Linked DNA regions of Homo sapiens: region 1 is linked to region 2. Evidence: promoter capture Hi-C in 16 types of primary human blood cells and fetal thymus (Javierre and others, 2016). All regions are on one chromosome and are shown on one strand. The core of a region is centred on a gene start or on the middle of the fragment in contact, and the rest is flanking DNA. Distances in the headings are between cores, read along the strand shown.

Region 1 (6,069 bases), core at 2,409-4,908, 590 kb before region 2:
CACACACACACACACGGCTGAGAGAAAAGCAACCAGGAGCAAATACATTGCCCTCAACATGGGAAGCACAGTTGAAAGTCACGGTGAAATCTGAAGCACCAGGAAGAAAAGGTCACCTTTAACCATTTGCCAAACCCAGAAAGTGAGAACATAGCCTACAAGAGTGTCACTTAAGGTGAAGGTTTCTGGCCACACCCTAACCTTTTCTGTCCTAACCCAACCTAACCCACTTCAATTGATGAGAAACTATGGTTATCAAATTGGGACTGCAGGGGTAAGGTGACCGTCTAGAAGAGAATCATACCCCCTAAACCTGGCTCCGTAGCAAAAGACCCCAGCTAGGGGGAACTTTCCCTAAAACTGGAAGCTTTTATTATTACATGGGATGTGACATTCTAAATCTAGAAATGAGAGTGTGTTTTGCAACTTAATGTGGTTGTAGAACTTTTTATTACCTAAGGATGGTCAGAAGCATTAGAGAACCACCTGATTTCACATTTAGGGGCAGGAAAAGAGTTTCTCCTGCTGAAGAAATTTTAAATAAACAATGAGAAACAAAATAAAGGTGGTTTCTTATCATGGCCCATGAATATTGCTTATACAACCTTTTGGTCATGTATGAGTTATTGTATTTAATCCCCACAGAAACCCAGTGAGGTAGGTCCATTGTTATCTTCATTTCACAGATGAGGAAATAAAACACAGAGAACTTCAGCAACTTGCCTAAGGCCACACAGACAATAAATGGTAAAGCTGGGATTTGACTACAAGGCTTAAATGCATCATAATACAGTAAGAATATTTTAAAATATATTTCCTGTCTTTGTTCTAGGTTCCAGAGAATCTCCTCCCTACTCGATACTTGTTTTGTGATGCAAACGCCCCTATTTGCATGATCATAATAGTGTGAAATTAGGTGATTCTTTATTAACCTTAAAGCAACCAATCAACCATTAGCAGTGGATGCTCACAACAGCTCTGAGTGATACAGAGAACAGATACAATTATTATTATTCCCCTTATACAGAAAAGGGGGATTTCCCCTTTCAGGAAAACTGAACGCAGAGAGAGAATTAATTCAGGGGATGTTGACAAAGGTGTGGGGTATGCTAGAAGAGCAAAAGAGAGAAGAGGGGTGTTACCCAGAGGGTAGAAGCTGCAGCAGTCCCCGGGCTGGAGCTGCTGAATGTCTGGAGACGTCCCCACTGCTGGGGAGCGGAAGCCAATCCTGTGTCTCCGCTGGAGCCTCAGATGCTTCTCGGGCCCCCTGTTGTATACAGTCACTGGTACCGCTGCCGCTGGAGCCAGAAGTAGGATGGCTTCTCCCTGTCTCGCACCTGCTCATCTTCCCCTGGAGTTAGGGAACATAGGCAATGACACAAAGGAAGGCAGAGAAGGGTGGGAGTTTGGCAGAGAACCAGCAGACACTGTGGCTTGGAGGCAAATGGAGATTTGTTGATAACTAGAGTTAGGGGCAGTCAGGACTAGAAGCCAGGCGTGAAGTTCAGGAGGCCCCAAGGCCACTTTCACTTCAGATACTAACTGCAAGTTCAGGGATCCTCAAGACCACCCACAGATTTGACAATCTGTTGGAAGGACTCACAGAACTCACTGAAAGCTGTTATACTCACAGTTGTGGCTTATCACAGTGAAAGAATGCAAATTTAAATCAGCTGAGGGGGCGGGGCGTGGTGGCTCACACCTGTAATCCCAGCACTTTGGGAGGCCAAGGCAGGCAGATCACCTGAGGTCAGGAGTTCGAGACCAGCCTGGCCAAAATGGTGAAACTTCATCTCTACAAAAACACAAAAAAATTAGCCAGGTGTGCTGGTGGTGGCACATGCTTGTAATTCTAGCTACTTGGGAGGCTGAGGCAGGAGAATTGCTTGAACCTGGGAGGCAGAGGTTACAGTGAGCTGAGATTGCGCCACTGCACTCCAGCCTGGGCGACAAGAGTGAAACTCTGTCTCTAAATAAATAAATAAACTGAGGGAAGAGGCATATGGGGAAGAGTCCAGGAGAGCTCCACGTGCAAAGCTTCCAGTTGTTCTTTCCCAGTGGAGAACTAACTCAGCAGTGATGTGTGAGGATATGCATGAATTGCCACCCAGAGAAGCTCACCTGAGCCTCAATGTCCACAGTTTTTACTGGGGTTCTGTCACATCGACATGGTCAGTTTCCAGCCCTTCCGGAGGCTGAGCTGGAGCTGTGTGGCCCAAAGCCTGCATTATCGATTACATTGTTAGCATAGGTTATGGAGCTTGTTCCAAAGTCCTCAGGTAAACATTCTTATCAAGCAGGATATTCCAGTGGTTTAGAGATTATCTTCCAGGAGCTGAGGGCAAAGGCCAGACCCCTGTATGGGCAAAGTTAATCCTCTCCTGCATATGAGGTCTTCCCCCTCTCAACTTGGTGGTACTTTCAATGCTCTCAAGCTCCTTATTTGATCCTCAAAGCCGCATTATAGCATAGCCAAGGGATGCAAAAAGACAACTAAAAAAAATTCTATCAACTTTGCAGGGCATACAATATTAAGTAATTTCAAGTATAAAGTGTATTTTCAATTAGCATATGAGTTCACTTTTATATAATGTGTAGTAATATTTAAAATATATAGAAACATTTAGTTTTTTTCCCACTTAACAATTGATACATACTATTCATTTAAATCAGGTTGGGCACAGTGGCTTATGCCTGTAATCCCAGCACTTTGGGAGGCTGAGGCAGGTGGATCATTTGAGGTCGGGAGTTCAATACCAGCCTGGCCAACATGGCAAAACCCCATCTCTACTAAAAATACAAAAATTAGCCAAGCATGGTGGCACATGCCTGTAATCCCAGCTACTCAGGAGGCTGAGGCATGATCACTTGAACCCGGGAGGTGGAAGTTGCGGTGAGCCGAGATGGCGCCACTGCACTCCAGCTAACAGTGACAGTCCATCCAGAATAATTAATTAATTAATTAAGTAGCAAAAACATGCTTTATAAACAAATTAATTCAAGAAGAATATATATGATATTTAGCCTTAGGATCAAACATATATTAAAAACTGGTTTAAAATTTAAAATTGCATACTACTGTATAAACAGATTGCCTTTAGCACATTAAATAGGAAATTCACTTACTATAATTTCCATGTTTTGTTTCTAAGTTATCAATTCAGAGGAAATATTTCAAGCTTCTAAATACAGGTATTTCTGTGCAAACAACGTATTTCAGGTGCTAATGTTTACTTTTGATAAATAAGAAGTCAAATTAAATTTAATAGGCACCATATTTTCTCTCTTAATATATTTTGAAGTACAAGAAGTATTTTGTTGTGCTAAATAACACTTTTGTTGAGATGAATACAACATACAAACTGCAAATATCTCCTTGAAATAAATTTGCATAATTATTATCATTTTAATAATCCTCAGCAAGTTGTTGGATTTTGACATCTGTATGCTTCTTACCTTTAACGAATGATGTTGATATGAATTTTAAAACAAGAAAGTGAGAATAAAATAACTTTATATGTATGGTTGGAGTATTTTTTAAGCTTCTATAACAAAAATACCATAAAATGCATGGCTTAAAGATCATAAGGTTTATTTCTCTCTTATTTAACGTCTGTAGGTGAGTGGTTTCATTGAGGGTGAGATCTGTTCCGCATGTATTCTGAGAGCCAGTTGTTCTGCCATCCCATGAGACAGAATGACTAGAAAAAAGAAACCATGTTGCTTCTTAAGTTTTTTGTGACAAGGTCCCCTTTGACAGTCTGGTGAAGCTTATGGACTATCTCAGAATAATTTTTTTCTTTTTATCATTATTATTATTATTTAATACAGATAAGGTCTTGCTATGTTGACCAGGCTGGTCTCAAACTCCTGGCCTCAAGTCATCCTCCCATGTCGGCCTCCCATAGTGCTTGGATTACAGGTGAGAGCCACCATGCCTAGCCTCAGAATAATTTTTTCAAAGATATAAAAGAAAATGTATAGGATTATAAAAGATAGCAATTATATTGAAATATATTCATCACAATGCTTATAAAGCAAATGTGTGAATTACTAATATATTTGCTTCTTTATTAATACATTAAATAGAAAGATCTAGTAGGGTCAAATTGTCTCGTATCACAATTTCAAACTGGTGAAGAGCACAAATAATATTTTGAGATATCTTCAGCTGAAATGTGAAATAAAAATACCTTTCTATTGGTCACAAAGTTACCTGTACTCTTAATACTGTGGTTACTTTCCTGTATTCATAATTGAAAAACACAATTTCAGTTAGAGTTAAATTGAAATGAAGACTTTTTTTCCCTGATTTAACTTCATTAACCCACATGGTTTATATCCCCAAATTCCTTGAGTATTCATAAAACCCTGATTAACAGCTCCTGGGCTGGGCACGGTGGCTCATGCCTGTAATCCCAGCACTTTGGAAGGCTGAGGCAGGCAGATCACTTGAGGTCGGGAGTTTGAGGCCATCCTGGCCAATGTGGCAAAACCCTGTCTCTACTAAAAATACAAAAATTAGCTGGCCGTGGTGGTGCGAGCCTATAATCCCACCTACTTGGGAAGCTGAGGCAGGAGAATCTCTTGAACCCAGGAGGTGGAGGTTGCGGTGAGCTGAGATCAAATCACTGCACTCCAGCCTGGGTGAAAGAGCGAGACTCCATCTAAAAAAAAAAAAAAATAACAAAAAAACAAAACAAAAAAACTGACCTAGGGCTATGAATTAATCTACATAATCAAAGTCAAGCAGCAAACATAGCTATTTTCTGATTCAAGAAAGGGAAAAAATGAAAATCTGTAACAATTTGGGGGGAAGTAAAGGCCAAGTTTTGGGGAGTGTTTTAAGGAAGTAAGACCAAAAAAGAATTTTTTTTTTTTTTGAGATGGAGTCTCACTTTGTTGCCCAGGCTGGAGTGCAGTAGAGTGATCTCGGCTCACTGCCACCTCCACCTCCCGGGTTCAAGTGAATCTCCTGCCTCAGCCTCCCCAGTAGCTGGGATTACAGGCGTGTGCCACCACGCCTGGCTAATTTTTGTATTTGTAGTAGAGATGGGGTTTCACCATGTTGGACAGACTGATCTTGAAGTCTTGAGCTCAAGTGATCCACCTGCCAGCTTCAGCCTCCCAAAGTGTTGGGATCATAGGCGTGAGCCACTGAGCCCGGCTGAAATCAAAATTTCGTGCATTATTTCCTCTCACAATTCACTGATGAAAACTTAGCTGGATGGCCACACCTAGCTGTAAAAAAGGCTGGGGTAGGCAGGGTGTGATGGCTCATACCTATATTCACAGCACTTTGGATGCCTGAGGTGGGACGATCACTTGAGAACAGGAGTTCAAGACCAGCTCGGGCAAAAACCACATATCTGCAAAAAAATCTAACAACCAGCCAGGCGTGGTGGTGTGTGCCTGTAGTCCCAGCTGCTTGGGAGGCTGATGTGGAGGGATCGTTTAAGCCAGTAGGTTGAGGCTTCAGTGAGCCATGATTGCACCACTGCACTCTAGCTTGGGTGAAAAAGCAAGACCCTGTCAGAAGAAGGAGAAGGAGAAGGAGGGGGAGAAGGAGAACAAGGGGGAAGAGAAGGGGTTGGGGAGGGTGAAGGGGGAGGGGAGGTGAAGGGGAAAGGGAGGAGGGAGGAGGGAGGAAAAGAAGGAGGAGGAGGAGAAGAAGAAGACTGGGAAATACAATTTTTAGCTGGCTCACCATTTTCTAATGAAGAAGGGGAAAATGGATGTGGGGTGACAACAAGCAGCCTGCCATGCTCCATGGTAGTCAGAGACAACATGGTGGGCTGTTGTGCTCAGCTGGTGCTAACTCAATAGAGTGACCGTGTCATCAGCCTTTTTATCTGATCCCCCAATTGCTCCATATGGTTAGTTGGTACATACTCAAAGGCTCTCAGGTGAGAGACATTTGTCAAGATCACCTCTAAAACTAGAGAGTGAAAGAGTTGCCATGATACCCTCTTAAAATCCCAGGTATCCACATACTTCTGAGAAATGTTGCCCTCAACCAAACAGAAAGGCACGAGACCCTGGAGACAATATGTCCTAGCACTGACCCCT
Region 2 (3,868 bases), core at 1,117-3,616:
AGAATGGCTTGAACCCGGGGAGTGGAGGCTGCAGTGAGACAAGATCTTGCCACTTCACTCCAGCCTGATTGAAAGATGAAACTCCATCCCAGGAAAAAAAAAAAAAAGAATAAGTTAGGTAAAGAGAAGAAAATAAAGTGCAAAAGTAAGTGCTTCTTTTATGTGTTCAGCACAGCCTTTATTCTGTGAGGTCAATGTCTCTCTTACAGAGGAAAGAAGTGAAACATTTAGCCTGAATCCTGAGAACCAGGAACTTCTCAAACATCTTAGTTTGCCCTCTCCCAGTGTAAATGAATTGCACACTTTCTGAAGTCACTTTTGTATTTCTCCATTGCAGACCACTTTGTACCTACCTGTTTAATCAACATCTTCCCCTCTTGAGTCTTGGTAGGGTCTGGATCTTTCAGCTCTGTTGGATGCTCATGAAGTGTAACCAAAGTTTCCCTTCCTTTTTTTTTTTTTTTTTTTTTTGAGACAGGGTCTTGCTCTGATACCCAAGCTGGAGTGTAGTGGTGCGATCTCAGCTCACTGCAACCTCCACCTCCCTGGCTCATGTGAGTCTCCTGCCTCAGCCTCCTGAGTAGCCGGGATTACAGGCGCCCACCACCACACTCGACTAATTTTTGTATTTTTAGTAGAGATGAGGTTATACCACATTGCCCAGGCTGTTCTTGAACTCCTGGCCTCAGGTGATCTGCCAGCCTCGGCCTCCCAAAATGCTGGGATTACAGGTGTGAGCCACCGCGCACGGCCAGTATTTGTTCAAATGATTTCTCTCCACTTAGGGGAGAGAGAAAAATAGGGCTGGACTACCTGCACTTGGCAAGGGCAGAGTGGCAGAGTAGACTTGCCTACCAGCGAAGCCAGACAGCCTTTGGTTCCAATCTTAGTACTACCACTTTTCAGCTGAGGAACCCCAGCAAATTGTGAGGCCCCCGAGCCTCAGTTTTCTTATCTGTAGAATGGGGATAATGATGCTCTCCTCATAGGATTGCTTAGCGCTGGGTAGGTCCTTAAGGAATGTCCATTGCACTCCCATCCCTCTACAGCTTCCCCCAGATTCTGTCCTCTTAGGAGGCATGGGTGTCACTGGAACATGAGGAAGAATTCCCTGGATCCTTTTTTCCCTTTCCTCACACAGAAGCCAAACCTCAAATACACATCTTCCCTCTCTGTCCACACCCACAGCAGCAAAGAGGAGAGCCAGGGATCTGGGGGTGGGGGTGGGGGCCCATCTTCCTCCTCTCAGTGGGTGGGGGCTCGCAGGCTGACTGGCAGAGGACCTTCACTGGAGTCAAAATAAACTGCCTTCCTGGGGAGGGGATAGAGGGCGAGAGAAGCCGCAGGTATTGTTTTGTGGGGGAGGGGGGTCCTCTTCCTATTCCATTTCACTGAATTCTTCCCACCCGGCATGGCCCTGGGAGGTGACCATAGCCCTGGCTCCCCGAGTAAACACCCAGGTCAAGCTACAGGACTGACTGGGTCTTAAGCTATTATACTCCCAGTGAAAAGATTTTTTTAGCCCGAGGACTATCTCGAACTCGTTCTATCTCAGTGAATGACTCACTGGAAACGGTGTAAACACAGGTGTATTACTGGCCTGCGGAAGACTTGGATGTCCCAGCATGGTAGAAGGCCAGGTCCCTGCAGTGCAACGCTTGCATTCTACATCCAGAAAACTAAAGTTCAAAGAGGTTAAGCAATTTGCCAGAATCCTGCAGTCCAGGGACTGAGCGGAACCTGGAATCCGCCACCGGGACTTCCAGCCCTGCTCCCTCCGGCGCCACCCTCTTCCCAGAGGTAGGGAGAGCTGAGGCTCGCTGTGCTCACGTGGCTTTCAGAGCCCGCCTCGGACCCTGACCTGTATTCCACTCCCGACCCCACACTTCCTCGTTTCCCCTTCCTTCTCCCTCTCTTCCCAGGGTCCCGCAGGGCCGGCTGGATGAAGTGATGCCGGGCACCTATACACGCATGATGGCAAAAGGAGGATTGCAACGCCAGAGCTCGCCCCTCCAGAGCTGTGCAGGGTCCCCACCGAGGAGGGGGTGCAAACGGGTGCTGGGCTCGGGGGTCAGCCCGCGCCAAGTCTGGGGCTGGGGGCGGAGCCTGCCGGTCCGGGGCGGGAGGGTGGGCAAGAGAGGGAGTCCCGGGGCCTGGAGACTTTGGAGGAGTCGGGGCCCTGGGGGTAGGAGACCGCCGGGTGGGAGCGGCAGGCGCAAGCCGGGCGGCGGGGCGCGCGGGCCAGGCGGGGCCGGGCGGCGGCAGGGACTGCGGAGGTGCGGCGTGAGCTGGGGCGGGCGGCGTCACCGGAGGCGGAGGGGGCGGAGCCGCGCTCACAGCTGCCACCCGGCCGCCGGGCCCAGGCAGAAGCCACCCGCCCGCGGCCGGGCACGCACCGCGCGCAGACCTTCTGCGAACAATGCTCCGGCCGGGCGGCTGGCGGCTCGGAGACCGACGGAGGGGCCGGGGGAGCGCAGCCCAGAGGTGAGCCCGCGACGCGCTCTCCAAATTCGGCCTCTTTTTGTCTGGCGAGCGTGGTCGCAGAGGGGAGCTTTGGAGGGGCGCTGCGATCGCCGAGCGGGCTACCCCCGGGGTGACAGGCGACCGCTCGGGAAGTGGGCAGTGCCGGGGCCGCGTGAGCCCCGGGTGGTGCCCGAGGTGCAGGGAGGCGCCCGGCCGGGAGGACCGAGGAGCTGGAGGGTGTTTTTGATTCATTCGAGAATCGCGCTCTTTAAAACGGGGAAACTTTCCTACGAGTTCCAGGAGGGAGGACCGACTGTTAGGATGGTTTCTCTGGTCTTGCTGCTCTGTCTGCGGCCGGAGGCTGAAGCGCTTTGAGGACTGCTTTCCACCGCTAGAGTATTGTCAAGGGGGAGAGACGGAAGGCCGCCTGGCTGCTGGGACCAGGACCCGGGGGGATGGTTTGGGGGTGCAGGGTATGCAGCAGCGGGGCTCCAGAGGCAACGAGATGATGCCCTTTTCCCCGAGCCCTGGCTGAGCCCTCTGAAACGCATGCTGTGAGCACGTTATTAACCTTTGCTGGTATCCGGGGACACACACACTTAGAACATAGAATCCTCTGCTGGGCATGGAGGCGGCCGGGCATTCGCAGCGGAGAGCGCCAGCTCACGGTGTGTGCGTTTCTCTCAGGTAAGCTCTCCCTGCACATGGTTTTGCAGAGCCGATAGCAAAGCCCAATGGTCTAGGGGCGAGGAGTTTTGGCGATGCATTCAGTGCGGAGTCAGGCTCAGAAGGCTTTCCTGATCACTGGCCTGAACTATTCTTAACAACTCCTCTCCCCTTCCCTTTCTGAGAAGAAAATTTGACAGAAAGCCCTAGGGAATTCCGCAGTTATTTTTCTCTCCTGAGGTCTGGTTGGTTTCGACTGTAGTGGGTGCAAAACCACATTCCTCCCTCTGAGATTTTCTTTCCTCCAGCACTGGAGGAAGAAAAAAGAAAAGGAAAAGTTGGGTGAATATCGTAATTTACCCTCTGCGTGAGTAGGGAGGCAGGGGGCTAGTGGGTGGTAAAGTTGTCACTTTCTCCTTTCTGCCTGGTCAGCCCTGGCCAGTGGAGTGTGCTGAAGTTCAGACACTTTCCACACATATTTCTTTCCTTTTACTGGCGTTGCATTAATTTAACTGTAACATACAGAAAAAAATTTTAGGTGAATGTTTTCTGCAATTCTGTCACTTCAGAATAAGGCATAAGCAACTTCTGATGTAAGTCTGAGGGGGTATTTTGGGCCAAAATATTTAATCTTAAAGATCTGGCCACCTTGATTCTTCAGATTCTTTTTTGAAATGGGGTGGGAGTGTATCTGACAGCTTCAGTCTTGCAAACTGTAGCCACAAATCTAGTGCAGAAG

Evidence for each region. Contacts are between HindIII fragments. The CHiCAGO score rates a contact against its expected background, and 5 or more counts as called.
Region 1: a fragment that was not itself captured here is called in contact with the fragment with the promoter of PRAG1 in region 2 in 8 of 17 cell types (naive B cells, M0 macrophages, M1 macrophages and 5 more); the score reaches 6.6 in naive B cells.

What each region holds. Positions count from the first base shown.
Region 1 is chr8:8,974,279-8,980,347 of GRCh38, reverse strand. LOC124901866 reads right to left here. Exons shown (of 4, transcript XM_047422504.1): 3 at 1,143-1,351. Among named protein-coding and RNA genes, the nearest start is that of ERI1, 26 kb to the left of the region's middle. RefSeq lists an enhancer at 2,155-2,449. The HindIII fragment of the contact is 228 bases long and covers 3,545-3,772 here.
Region 2 is chr8:8,384,937-8,388,804 of GRCh38, reverse strand. It overlaps PRAG1 (PEAK1 related, kinase-activating pseudokinase 1), which reads left to right and starts at 2,366. Exons shown (of 6, transcript NM_001080826.3): 1 at 2,366-2,484. RefSeq lists a silencer at 1,984-2,663. The HindIII fragment of the contact is 9,968 bases long and covers 1-3,868 here.